4 separate regions of the Homo sapiens genome follow, and all the other regions are linked to region 3. The links are contacts of gene promoters, found by promoter capture Hi-C in blood cells and fetal thymus (Javierre and others, 2016). All regions are on one chromosome and are shown on one strand. The core of a region is centred on a gene start or on the middle of the fragment in contact, and the rest is flanking DNA. Distances in the headings are between cores, read along the strand shown.

Region 1 (3,599 bases), core at 85-2,584, 310 kb before region 3:
CCATGTACATAATTAGCACTGAATAAATATTTTGACTGATTAATAAATTGACTGATTTACCAGGTGAATGATGTGGATAAAATAATTTGGAGTCCATTGGCTTTGTCTACTTACCCAAAGGCAAAACAGTAAAGATAAGAAATTGCTCTAACCATAAATGTTGGCCTAATGGATCTACACTGTCCAACTAGAACAGTAGGGTTGTAGTAATTCACCCTTTCAGATACCTGGCATTCGCACTGCTATGTTGGATGACTGCTGATTGCTCTGACCAAAAGTTATAGACTAGTATAGATGTACAGTCATGGGTTGCTTAACAATGGGGTTATGTTTTGAGAAATTTGTTGTTGTGTGAACATAATAGGGTGTACTTACAGAAATGTAGATGGTATAGTCTACTACACATCTAGACTATATGGTGCAGCCTACTTAGGCTACAAACCTGTTCAGTATGGCTATACTGAGTACTGTAGGCACTTGTAACACAAAGGTAAGTGTACCTAAACATATCTAAACACAGAAAAGACACAATAACAATAAAGCCTAATCATCTTATGGGATCAATATCTGTCTGTTAGTGGTGGTCTGTCATTGACTGAGACATTGTTATGGATGCATGACTGTACTAGGTATCAGAGCTTAGATGTGAACCCAGATCTTCCATCTCCAGAGCCTGTATTCTTTCTTATGACACTGTGGAGGCCTCCCAAAGATGAAGAGTTTGAAATGATGGTAAAGAGACCAGAAGGAACACAAATGGGGAGGACATGAGATTTTGCATAGCATTCCATGGTTATGATGCTAACTCACTTCAGTTTGCATTCCTACTAGAAGGACCTAGTACATATAATTAGCTATTCTTAGCCACCTTATACCTTAGGAGTACAGTTGTGGCCATTACAATATTTTTTGGGTGGGGGGCAGGGAGTGGTAAAGAGTATAAGAAGAACCCTTTTAGAGAATTAAGGTATATTAGTAAGTCTGGCATTTGTACAACTCAATGAAGTTTCTACTGCTGATTAGCTTTTCTGAAGCTTTGTTTAGTTCCTTTTGGCCTCACAACATGTAAAGTACTAGGCTTTGGGGTTAGGTGCATGAGGTTCACTAGGTTGAAAAACTGAAATCCCAGGTAAAGAAAAACTAAAATTCTCTTCTAGATTTGCCACATGATGTACCCTCATAAGCTGTCTCCTGGTTTACGTTGCAAATCATCATCATTAAAACCATGAGCAGTAGCAAGTATTCCCATGACTGGGATCCTGGTCTTGTAAGAGGGAAATTGGGAGGCCTGGCAGCTCTGCTCCCTTTGTTTTTAAGGCAATACTTCTCAAATTTTTAAGATGCTCAGAATAATCTGGTGGGCTTCTTAGAACACAGCATACTGGGCCTCAATCCTAGAGTTTCTGACTCAGTAGATCTTGAGTAGGCCTGGAAATCTGCAGTTCTAACAGGTTCCTGAGTCCCCCACAGATACCAAGGTATGACTGCAGATAGAAAGGTAGGTAGATGAGAGGTAATTTATTAGGGAAGTTGGCTCACATGGTTATGCAGGCTCAGAAATCCCACAACAAGCCGTCCAAAAGCTGGAGACCCTGGATGCCAGTACCATGGCTCAGTCTAAATCTGAAAGCTTCAGAACTAGGGGAGCTGATGGTTTAATTCTCAGTCTGAAACCAAGGGTCTGAGAACCTAGGGGGCTGCTGGTTAAGTATTAGAGTCCAAAGGCTGGAGAGCCTGGAGTTCTGATGTCCAAGAGCAGAAGATGGATGTCTCAGCTCCAGGAGAGAGAGAGAGGAAACCACCTTTCCTCTGCTTTTTTTTGGTTCTTTCTGGGCCTCTAGGTGATTGGGTGGTGCCTGTCCACATAGAGGGTGGATTTCCCTCCACTCAGTTCACAGACTGCCAGTCTTCTCTGGAAACACCCCAACAGACACACCCAGATATAATGTGTTACCAGTTCTCTAGGTATCCTTAATCTAGTCAAGTTGACACCTAAAATTAACCATCACAGGAAGTATACCCCTAATAGTCACCAGTGATACAGAAGACAGCTACTGACATGCTCCCAGTGATGCACACCTCTTGGAATTCAAACCGTGTGTAATCCCCTCCCCTCGAGTGTGAGCAGGACCTAGTCACTTTCCTCCAACAAAGAAAATACAGCTAAAGTGATGGGGTGTCACTTACATGATCAGGTCACGAGAGACTCTGTCTTCCACCTTGCTAGTACTCTCTCGCCCACTTGCATGCTAGCACTGATGCAGCCAAGTGACATGTTGTGAGATGATCTACCTAGAGGCCCACATGGGAAGGAACCTAGGGAGGCGAAGCCTCCAGCCAACAGCCCTGGAAGAAATGAGGCCTCAGTCCACCAGTCAACAAGCACAGAACTGATTCCTGCCACCAAGCAGATGAGTGACCTCAGAAGTGGACCCTTCCAATTCAAGCCTTGAGATGACTGTAGTCATGCAAGAGACCCAGTTAGGGGATCCAGCCAAACCGTGCCCAGCTCCTGACCCATAGAAACTGTGAGATAATAAGTGTTGTTTTAAACTGCTAAGTTTGGGGGTAATCTATTATACCACAATAGATAACTAGCTAGGCAGGAGAACAGCAGTGGGGAGACTTGAGAAAAACTGCCTTAGTGTGAATGATGAGAACCTTCATGTAACGAAGCTATTCTGGGCACTGTACAGAACCAGGTCAAGAGCCTTTATTCTCTGGGGTTTAAATTATTTATGTTTTACTTACAGAATCATCTTTAAATGGGAATGTTTATTTAGGTATCCTATTGCTAATTCTCAGAAGTTCTCATTTTGCACTATAACAATAGCTATATGGAAAACAAAATCCCATTGGAGTAAACAAATTCCATTTGTTACTCTGCCTTGTAACCACACACTTAAGCATCTAAGTGTCATGAGTATTTTATAATAAATTTACATCGCTTAAGAAGCAAGTTCATATAGGTAGATAGAAGCTTAAAATGCTCATCTTTAACATAATTTAAAATTTAAAGTAAATAACCAAAAGGATCATTTCAAATTCACATGTTATAAATGCCGCTGTATTTATTTAGGTAGGTTTTTTATGGTAGAGAAAGAGATCAAAGGAAATATGTGTAATGTTTTCCATTTTGTCAACATATCTCGACAGATCTATTAATACAAATCAGTACTATAATTCTATCATAAAAGACAAATAGATTATTGGATATTTTTTACAATGACTACATGACTTTTGTGGATTAAAATCAGGATGATCTAAATATTAGTAGATTAATTTATTTGGAGGAAAAGTTACAAATCATTCACTTAAAAATTGGCTTTGTGCCCACATTCTGGAGGCACACTAGGGAGAGTTGTAGCTGCACTGCTAATGTCTACACAGAGTGAATTTCAGAACATAATTTATGTAGATGAAGTGTGCAGAATGTTTTTATTTGTTCTACATCTCACTGTCTCACCTCTGCATGAACTTCCCAAACCCAGATCTACTCCAAATATTCTTACTCCCCTTCTCCACACTTCCCTCCAACGTGTTTGCTTTGGCAACTTTCATGTTCTTACAAACAATTCTCCCAAGGAAATCAATCACTC
Region 2 (3,394 bases), core at 813-3,312, 420 kb before region 3:
TGTGTGTGTGTGTGTGTGTGTGTGTGTGTGTGTGTGTGTGTGTGTGTGTGTTTAAATTTACCAGTACTCCAGTGCTCCCAAAACAACGTCTCAAATTGGCTAAGCAGTGTGGGTTTCCTTTGGGAAATCACATGGTACTGAGCAGGAAAATGGTGGACATTCGTGGGCCTTTTTGACTCTCCACCTCCTTTTAAGAAAGCCAAAGAGTCCAGTCTTTCCACCCAAGCCTTCCTCTTCCCACCTCCCTTGAAGCTAGAGTACAAGGATGTGATCTGGGCTTAACCAGTCAGACACGCTAGCCCCAGAGTTTTGAATTGGTGGCTGCTGATCCAAAGCAGTATGAGAAATGAAGTCAGAGTGGCTACAGCAATAACTGGTTTCCGGGAGCAGCAGATGCTGCACAAAATGTGACGGCCATGTCCTCACTGGCAAGATTTTGGCTGTGGACCTGCAGCTGCCTGACCCTTTCTCCTGCCTGCTTCTCAAGATTTCCCCATGTTTCTGTGAACCAGGTGCTTTTCAGTCAGTTCCTTTTTGGTTTAACCAGAGTTGGTTTCTGATGCTAAGAATGTTGACAGTTACAAGAAATAAGGAGAATATCCCTACCCTAGACTCTGGGTCCCATTTTGCCACCTGAGCACCAGGAGTCCTTTGTGAAGACAGTCCCTCTGGTTCTGGTCATGTTTGCTGTGATGTCCCCTCCCCTCTTCTCCTCCTTCCCTCTTTCCTTTCTTCCCTCTTCCTCTCCTCCTTCTCTCCTCTCTGAGGGACCAGCATCAGAGACATTCACCACACACTCCCACCATCCCTCACTGGCTCAACATCCTCCACAAACCTTCCCTGAGAAGAGCCTACACCCCATACAACACAGCCTCCATCAGCAGAGCCCTGGGGCCACCCATTCCACTGGTTCATCCATCATGCCCAGACTGACCGCCAGGCAAGGACACAAGTTGTGCCTAGTTTGCAACCCTCCAAATACTGAGAAATGAGTTACTTTGGGAAATGCTTTGTCCTTTTTCTGAAAAGATCCTTCCAGGTTATCTTTGGCAGGGCTAAATTATTCCAGCTGAGCCTGACACCTGCTTCCTGAAGGCTCAGACCCTGCCGCTTTCCTCCCTCCCTCTCTCCCTCCCTCAACACTCCCTCCCTTCCTTTTCATAAGTATTCACTGAGCACCTCCTAGGAATGAGACAAGATGACGAGTCTCAACTCAACCCTCTGTCACTGAAGTCTCACTCCAGTAAGGCGCATTTACTCCAGTATGTCCTGTAACCCACAATGAGTCACTGCATTCAGTGCAGTCTAGGCTATTCCTTCTATTGTAGGTAACAGGAGTCTCTTCTCTTTCCACTGCAAAGGATGTGCCTTCAGATCATCTGAATCATAAAAAAGGTGACATTTCTACTTTTTTCAAAAATAAATAAAAGAGCCCTCCTAAGCAGGAACCCCTCAGTTATGTCACAAGAGCCTTCCAGTAACAACTTCTCTCTGTCATAGCCAATGGCTTAAAGGCACCCAAAGTCCCAGTAAGGTTTTCCCAGACTCTAGTTCCTGGGAAGCTTTACTTGGAAGACAGTTGCAGATAAACGCCAAGCAACCAAGCTGATGGGGAAGAAACCCACTGCCTGGGTCACGCTCAGTCCTTCAGGGTTTCCAGGGACCAAAGATTATGCACAAGAACAGCCCAGTCATATCTACTACCAGTCACTTCCAATAACCAACTTTGCATAAATGTCAATATGTGTCTGCTGACATATATACAACATGCACCCATATGCACATCTTTATAATAGTTTCATTATAATGACATACTTTCAAAAAGTTATTGGCATACATAAACATATGCCCATCTCCAATTAAAATAAACATATACTTAAGCTGTTTTTAGTTTCTGCTTCATAAGTTATAAATAGGCTAAACCATTTACAAAATAATAAAATCCAGCACTAATCTTTCTGTCTGCCGAAGACCATTTTCTGTGATCCTTACCTGAGCACATTTTTCAAGGCCACAGGACTGGGGGGTCAGATTTTCTGCATCTCCAGGTGCCTGGGTCATGCTGGTTTATAATCCTTCTGGCAGCTGGGCACAGTGGTGCATGCCTGTAATCCTGGCACCTTGGGAGGCCAAAGCAGGTGGATCACTTTAGGCCAGGAGTTTGAGACCAGCCTGGCCAACATGGTGAAACCCCACCTCTACTAAAAATGCAGAAATTAGCTGGGCATGATGGTGCACACCTGCAATCCCAGCTACTGGGATGCTGGGGCAGAAGAATCTCTTGAACCTGGGAGGCGGAGGTTACAGTGAGCCAATTTGTGACACTGCGCTGCAGCCTGGGCAACGGAATGAGACTCTGTCGAAAAAAAAAAAAAAAGGCTTCTGGCAGAAATTTAGTCAGGACCTGGGAAGGATTATTTCAAATTAGGTCCATCAAGAGGAAAAGGGGGAAGGAATTCCCAAGTGACACCACCCCTCCCGCCCCACGACAGTTTGAGGATGCCTCTGTCTTCACCTGTTTTGTGCAGATCTGGGTTCATTGTCTCCTAGTCACAAGCTTCCCCACAGCTTCTAGAAGGGTCCATTTTGGAAACTACAGGGGGCTCTGAGGTTTGGCTTTTTGAAGTTCTGAGAGAGGTATCTGCTCCAGCTCAGGAGGTCCCTACGTACCTGCCAGGTAAATGCAAGTTTACCTGGGAGAGAGTCAAGCCTGCTCTTGAGTCCTAGGGCTTAAAGTCTCAGCAGCTTACACAGAAAACTGTGTTCCTCAGCCCACTCGCTGAGCAGGACTTGAAGTCCTTGGCAATGCTCTAATGGCAGTCCCTTAGGAAAATAATTTGTCATCAATTTAAACCCTAAAAATAGACTACATTCCTTACACTACATAGACTTACAACCAACCTTTTTGATTTTTTTCCAAATATTTTATTTTATTTATTTTATTTCTGAGACAGGGTCTTACTCTGTCGCCCAGACTGGAGTGCAGTGGCATGGTCATGGGTCATGGCAGTCTCAACTTCCCTGGACTCAGGTGATCCTCCCACCTCAGCCTCTGGAGTAGTTTGGCCTACAGGCACATGCCACCATGCCAGGTTAATTTTATTATATTTTTTGTAGAAATAGGGTTTCATCATGTTGCCCAGGCTGGTCCTGAACTCCGGGACTGAAGGGGTCCACCTACCTTGGCCTCCCAAAGTGCTGGGATTACAGGTGTGAGCCACTGCACCTGACCTCAGATATTTTAAGCCAAAAAAAATTTTACCTGAAAAAATTTGTTTCAACTACCAGGCACTTGGCAAAACACTCTCCAAATATTATTTCAGTGATTCTCGTCATACGTTTGTATAGAGCTTTAAATAGTTACCAATGGCCAGGTGCAGTAGCTCACACCTGT
Region 3 (3,506 bases), core at 799-3,298:
GTTCGAGACCAGCCTGGGTGACATAGCAAAACCCCATCTCTGCTAAAAATACAAACTTTAGCCAGGCATGGTGCCTGTGGTCCCAGCTACTTGGTAGGCTGAGGTGGGAGGATTGCTTGAGCCCAGGAGCTGGAGGTTGCAGTGAGCCAAGATCACGCCACTACTCTCCAGCCTGGGCAACAGAGTGAGACCCTGCCAAAAACAAAACAAAACAAAACAAAATGGTTCTTGGGTTCTCAACAAGCACAGACTGGTGACCCAGTTGCTTGGATCTGGGATGACCCTGGAAAGTGTTGCACAGCAGGTCAACAGGAGCTCAATTTTCAGAGTGGACAGGTACCCAAAGGCTGGTGTGGCCTCTCACTCACCCTCCTCCATGGTGTCACCTACTTCCACAAAGAGGTTGAGACTCAGTTAAAAAACAAGCAGCCAATAAAACTGCTAGTTATAAAGCACAAAATGGGTGGAAGGGGGGAACTTGGCTTTGAAAGAATAGTATAAGTGGAATCAAGTGAGAAAGCACCTTCCAGAAAATCACCCAAGCCCTGTACTTCAGGGGTATAATATATTAAATATGCCAAGTGGTTGTTAAAGAGTTGTCTAGCTTACACAGAGCTGACCTAATTATCTCGTTATCTTATTTTACTCCAATGAATGGGATATTTTACCAGGACCCCGTAAGTCAGGTCCTGCAATTGCAAAGACAATCCAAAATCGTGAAGACTATTTTCACCTGCCCAAGGAAAGAAAACTTTTAAAATATTTTGTGCCGCTCACATCCATGGTCCCATGAAGGAACTCAAGACTGAGGCCCTAAGCCCAAGATGATCTTGACAAACCAAAATCACACTGAGGGAAGGTCAGTTTAGGTAAAGAAAGCAAACAGGCAATCTTACACTGGGAAAAACTTTTCCAGGAAAAAGTATGATAGAATCAGAAGGAAGTTGGAGAAAAAAAGGAAATATAGGAGGGAAAAAAGCTTTCATTTCAAACTTGGAAAAACTTGATATACAGATGCAGTTAAGCTGAGACAAAGCATTGCACTAATTTTTTAATCTTCCCATTTTTTATTAAGTCAGTAACATCCTGCAGTGAATAAGAATTTCATATTGAGTATACAGTAGTCCTCATTTATCCTACAGGGAGTACATTCCAAAACTCTCAGTGGAATGAAACGATGGAGAGTCCTGAAACCTATATATATTGGTTTTTTGTTATTGTTGTTGTTTTAATTTTTTTCCTGAATCATGCAATCTCTTTTGCGGTTTCGGAGACAAGAAAGAGAAGGGTGATTCTCGGCTGCAAAGTCCTATCAGGAATTCATTTATTCCCAGTATAGTCAACTTTGCAGTGAGTCACAAGGCTTCAACTGTCTTAAGGCAAATTCCCAAACACCAGTAAATAGAAGCCCAAAACTGAATCTGTAGTTTCTTGTCCGTGGACTAGTGGACGGAGCACCTGGCTGAGTGTTCACCTCTGATCCATAATAGTGTGGAAATACTCTCTCTCTCTCCTTCTCCCACAGATGCACTCACAAACGGATACAAAGACACCCACATTCACTCGCAATGAAACCTTTTCCAAACACCACCCTACACTTAAACTCCCCAAAGCCAAACTCCCCTCTCCAACACTCCTATTGGTTTTCCAAAAGACATTTCCAAAATTCACAGCACCTCTCCACGTCCAAAGCTATGGTGCGTTTGGGGAACGAAACGAGAGGCAAATGCCTTCTGTGCGAAATCGGTTTGCGGCTTTTAGGGAGCCCGAGCGCAAGCAACAGCCGGAGGGGCTCGCAGGGACGCAGGTTGGGCTCGGATACCCAGCGCCTCCGCGCTGCCGCGGCTCCCCGCGCCCAGCCTGGCCGCACAGCTCAGCGCCCGACCCGCCGCCGCCGGCGCAGGCGCGCGGGCCGGGGCAGCTTACCTGAAGCTGGGTCCGGCGCCTGGCTGACCGCGCTGCTGTGGGCACTGGCTGGGCGCGGCGTCCGCCTCCGCACGCGGCCTCGGCTGCGCCGGCCGCCCTGCACCCTACCCACCGCGCGTCCTGGTGCGGAGGGCGGACCCGGCAGTATTTAGAGAAGGAGGCGGTGCTGCGCGGGCGCGGCGGCCCGGGGAGGGCAGGGCAGGGCAGTGCAGGAGCGACCGGTGGGAGCTGGCCGCCACTGGGGGCCCGGGGCGCGCCCGCGAGGGAATGGAGAGCCAGGGGCGGCTTCGGAACCCAGGGCTGGCGGGTTTGGCAGCCTCCGCGCTCGTGGCCGTGCGCGCGAGGAATCTGGGAGAAATGGGCACCTTCCACGGCTGCCTGGCCCGCACACCTGGCGGGGCCGGCGAGTTGAGATGCCCCCGCCGGCTGGCGGAACTGTGCGCCCCGCCCGCCGAGGCCCGCTCCCCCTCGAGGCCTGAGGCCCAGTTCTATAGGGGCGCGAGAGAGCGGCGGCGTGGGGGGCGCGGAGGAAGCGCCGGCCCCCGCCTCCACCGCCTCCTTCGTGGTTGCGGCCCAGGCCGAACAGGGTACCGTGCCCCGGCCGCCTTGGCCTTGGCCACCGCGAGGTCCGGGGCGACTACACCCAGCAGCCCTGTGGCCCTCCTACTGCTCTGGAGACCTGGAGTGGGGTTACAGAGGGAAGCGACTCGCTGCGAGCTCCCCATCGAATATGGAGCCACCAGGTCACGGGACGACGTGCGCTCTACAGAATGTGAGACAAGGGCCCTCCACACCCAGCCATTCAGGCCTGAGGTCCTGGCTCCGAGACTGAGGCCGAGACGCGGCAAGCCCCGCGCCGGACCAGCTCTGCCCCTCCCGCACCCACGTGTCTGCGCACAGCCCTCCTTTGCGATAGAACCCCCTTCCTGGTTCTCCACCACTAATGATCTGCCGGAATTAAACTGGTAACTTTCCCTGCCCTTGAACCGGGAGTTTCGGGATGAGTTTGCCAATCCCTGTGCTATTTGTAACCAGCCCCGTGACACGTGATACGGATCCAACTGTGCTAGTTTCCACACCAGGGGTCAGGGCACGGTGGAAGGTGAGTCAAGGGTTCTCTGCCCAAGCGCAGAGGTGCCCTGAGCCACGGGGACTTCCCAGCCCTGCCTTCTCTTCTCAGCTTCCTGTCTGCCTTGCCTGAAACCCTATCTAGAGTTAAGGCCAATGGATGAAACTTTTCAATGTGCAAGCAAGCACTTTACCTACCTGATACAACAAGAGATTCCTGGTCATGCTCACTGAAGGTAAAGTATGAAGCAGGCTTAGCTAATCATCAGAGGTGAGAAGAGACTTAAAGAACCAGTCAGAGAGGTAAAGAGGGGAGGGGGTTACCTGGGCTTTAGGGTTCACCAGGGAGGCAGAACGGACAAGTTCTTGCCATTGGAATTTGGTGGGGCACTTGCCTGGGTGGCCAAAGGTGGACTTTTTCATAGCCAGGGTGCCCGACCTCTGTAAATCCCCGCCATAACTAACAGCCCTGATTACTGTCGAAATGAACAATGCCAACACTCACGACCCCT
Region 4 (3,616 bases), core at 580-3,079, 390 kb before region 3:
GTAGTGCTGCTGTAACTGACAAAAATAATCATGAGGCTGGGTGCAGTGGCTCATGCCAATAATTCCAACACTGAGAGGCTAAGGTGAGAAGATTGCTTGAGGCCAGGAGCTCAAAAGCAGCCTGGCAACATAATGAGGTCCTGTCTCTATTTAAAAAAATAAATAAAATAAAATAAAATAACAAGTGGTCTGAGAACTCCTTCTCTTCGTGGTGTGCCAAAAAAACTGGTCAGGCAAGTTCTTGCTCATGGTGCCAAGCCACTCTAAATAAAACAGAAGCAGCTTCCGCTTCCTGTTCTTCAATGATTGCTTACTCCAGAAACCACTAAGCAGATGGCAAATGTTTGTCCTTTGGCATGTCTAATTGGATCCCAAAACCATGGTCCGCATTTCGTCTTTGCTTTTTTTTTTGTTGTTGTTTGTTTTCTTTTGTTTGAGACAGGGTCTTACTGTCGCCCAAGGTAGAGTGTGGTGGCGCGATCTCAGCTCACTACAACCTCTGCCTCCCAGGTTCAAGCAGTCCTCCTGCCTCAGCGTCCCAAGTAGCTGGGATTACAGGCATATGCCACCATGCCCAGCTAATTTTTGTACTTTTAGTAGAGATGGGGTTTCACCATGTTGGCCAAGCTGGTCTCGAACTCCTGATCTCAAAGTGATCTGCCTGCCTCAGCCTCCCAAAATGCTGGGATTACAGGTGTGAGTCATCACGCCCGGCCTGGTTTTGTTTTTGAGCCTGGGTCTCATTCTGTTGCCCAAGCTGGAGTACAGTGGCTCTATCATGGCACATTGCAGCCTCAACCTTCTGGGCTCAAGTGATCCTCCCACTTCAACCTCCCCAGTAGGCTGGGACTACAGGTGTGCAGCACCACACCCAGCTAATTTATTTTGGGTTTTTAACTTTTTGTAGAGATGGGGTCTCACTGTGTTGCCCAGGCTGGCATCTTTGGTATAGGGCTGTGTTCTCAAATTTGTGTGTGTTTAAGGATGACTCAAGGTATTCAGAAGATGTGCAGATTCCTGGTGCAACCCCTAGAGAGTCTGATTCTGTAGTCTGGGGTGGGGCCCAGGAAACATTAGCATAGTAGAAGCAGCCCTACCCAGATAGGAACCAGAAGACTGGGCTCCGTTTATATCAGCATAAACCTGAGAAGTCACTTCACCTCACTGGTCCTTCTTTCTTCATTGTAAAGCTTCATTTTTACGAGGGGAGCAATACCCACTCATCATAAGGCTGGTTGCCAGAAGATCAAATTAGAAACTGTAGACAGGAAAAGCACCATTATCACTAAAAGCACACACTCAAGGTCTAATAATTTTGGCTTCTGCCTTTCACAGTGAGAAAACCTGAACAACACCTGGTTAGGTAACACTGTATCCCCACTGTGAGCCTCTGTCCTGTGATAGAGACTCTCTTTTGTGCTTGTGTGTTTTGCGGTGACAGATCACAGCTGGCTTCCCACCAGGCAATGTCTTCTGATTTCCTACATGGCAGTCCTTGTACTGGGTGTGATCACCGCTGTGACTGGTCTTGGGATCACCTTTGGAATACCTGTAAAACCTGAAAGTATGTGTCACCTCTGGGTGGCCAATCTGTCAATAATTCACTCAACCAACAAGAGTATATTTATACTCCATATATTTCCAAAATGGGTGAGTCTACTGATAATGTTCGGCATGTGGTAGGTGCCAGCCACTGCTCTGTTCATTTTATACTTCTCATCTTTATTTTATTCTTAACAAACCTGCAGGGTGCTATCACCATTATGACTGAGAGTCGGTGGGGGGAGGCAACTTGCCCCAGATCATATCGCAAATACATTAATAAGCCAGGTTTCTGATCCAGGTCAGCCTGACTCTGAAGTCAGGATACAGTTTCCACCTTCCAGGAGTTTCCACTGTGATTAGGAGACTGGTGAAACAGTCGTGGGCAATACAGAACAGCATACGACCAGGAATTAAGTTGAGTGAGATGATACATATTTCCAGTAATTTGAGAGAAATCAGCTAGAACTGGTGCTGAAGGGACACGGTCATAAAAGTGAGAACTGGAGCCAAACCTTGTAGGGGGTTCAGATTTAGATTGAGGTTTGGGAAGAGGTTTGCCAGAGATGGAAACTGTGTACCCTCTGGTAGGACACAAAGGATTAGGACTTTGCCTTGCACCAAACTTGAAGTATGTGAGGGAGAGAGGTGAAAAATAACACTGAGTAGTTAAGGGGTGGGGGTGAGTGAAAAATAAGGAAGGATTATGGTCCAGTAGCACTGAATTGCATTACACACACGCATCCACACATTGACACCACGCTTCCTCTTGCCACACTCTGGCAGATGCTCTCCGCTCTGCCATGATGTCCTTCTTCCATTGCTTGTTTGGCTGGCTCATAGAGGGTTTAAGACTAATCTCAGGTGTCCCCAGACTGAGTGAGGTGTGCCACCTCTGTGCTTCCACAAATCCTGTGTAAAGCTTAACCCAGCTCCTGGACACACAGTGCAGTAATTATCTGTTCTGGAATGCATCTTGAAGACAAGCAATATCCTTCTAATCCCAGCCCTGCTACATGCTTATTGGACAAATGCCTTCAGTAATGCATGTTGATTAAAGAACTGAACCTTGATGCTGCCAGAAGTGGAGCCATGGAAGGCTTTTGAGATGATAAAAGCAAGCAGTATTTGTGTGGCTTCAGTGAAGGAAATGGGGCATAGAGAAAGTGATAGATTTGAAATATGGGAAACTGACTCATCAAATTGCCATGAAAACAAACAAACAAACAAAAACCTAAGGCTTAGGGTGTTGGTCTCCTGATGAGAACAGTTTTGGACTCACGATCCTAGTCAGCTTTGGGAGTTAGTAGGATTCTACACAATGGGACATAAGGGTAAGATCTGGATTCTCATTTTACCTTTTGAACACTCATTCAGAAAAGCATTTATTGAGCACATATTATGTGCCAATAATAGTGCTCTGCTCAGGTCTCCTTCAAGAGCGTCTGCATCAGGGAGCTCCTTTAACTGACAGCCCCAGCCACCACCTGTCTGGACCCACCACCACATTCATGCCAAGGCTACTCTTCCCCACGTGGTCCCCAGGCAATTACTGAGCACTGTGGGGTTGCTAGTGCTACCCATCCCTCAAGACATGGGACCCTGCTAATGGGTGACTTTGCCTCAAAGACTCCACCTTGGCCTGTCTGAAACTTTCTTAGAACTGGCTGCAGGCCAGGCACGGTGGCTCACGCCTGTAATCCCATCACTTTGGGAAGCCGAGGCAGGCGGATCACCTGAGGTCAGGAGTTCGAGACCAGCCTGGCCAAAATGGTGAAACGCCATTTCTACTAAAAATACAAAAATTAGCCATGCATGGTGGCAGGCACCTGTAATCCCAGCTACTCGGGAGGCTGAGGCGGGAGAATTGCTAGACCCTGGGAGGCAGAGGTTGTAGTGAGCAGAGATTACGCCATTGCACTGCACTCCAGCCTGGGCAACAGAGTGAGACTCCGTCTCACAAAAAAAAAGCTGCAGTCTGAGACTTCCTACGCAGACCTTCATTAACCCCCTCCTTTCATAGGCATTAGAACTGCATCAGGATAGGTTCCCTTGCCTACTTTTGCTTCCTCCC

Evidence for each region. The method cuts DNA at HindIII sites, captures the fragments that hold promoters and counts their contacts. A CHiCAGO score of 5 or more calls a contact.
Region 1: a contact is called between a fragment that was not itself captured here and the fragment with the promoter of TMEM171 in region 3, in 1 of 17 cell types (M2 macrophages). The highest score is 5.5, in M2 macrophages.
Region 2: a fragment that was not itself captured here is called in contact with the fragment with the promoter of TMEM171 in region 3 in 1 of 17 cell types (M2 macrophages); the score reaches 6.3 in M2 macrophages.
Region 4: a contact is called between a fragment that was not itself captured here and the fragment with the promoter of TMEM171 in region 3, in 1 of 17 cell types (M1 macrophages). The highest score is 5.3, in M1 macrophages.

Annotation. Positions count from the first base shown.
Region 1 is chr5:73,424,666-73,428,264 of GRCh38, reverse strand. No RefSeq gene overlaps it. Among named protein-coding and RNA genes, the nearest start is that of FOXD1, 22 kb to the left of the region's middle. The HindIII fragment of the contact is 596 bases long and covers 1,037-1,632 here.
Region 2 is chr5:73,538,237-73,541,630 of GRCh38, reverse strand. No RefSeq gene overlaps it. Among named protein-coding and RNA genes, the nearest start is that of ANKRA2, 26 kb to the left of the region's middle. The HindIII fragment of the contact is 995 bases long and covers 1,565-2,559 here.
Region 3 is chr5:73,119,117-73,122,622 of GRCh38, reverse strand. It overlaps TMEM171 (transmembrane protein 171), which reads right to left and starts at 2,048. Exons shown (of 4, transcript NM_173490.8): 1 at 1,927-2,048. It overlaps LOC124901001, which reads left to right and starts at 2,132. Exons shown (of 2, transcript XM_047417978.1): 1 at 2,132-3,506. The coding sequence starts at 2,194. The coding sequence ends at 2,895. RefSeq lists an enhancer at 2,658-3,209. The HindIII fragment of the contact is 5,746 bases long and covers 982-3,506 here.
Region 4 is chr5:73,512,062-73,515,677 of GRCh38, reverse strand. No RefSeq gene overlaps it. Among named protein-coding and RNA genes, the nearest start is that of BTF3, 15 kb to the right of the region's middle. The HindIII fragment of the contact is 1,274 bases long and covers 1,193-2,466 here.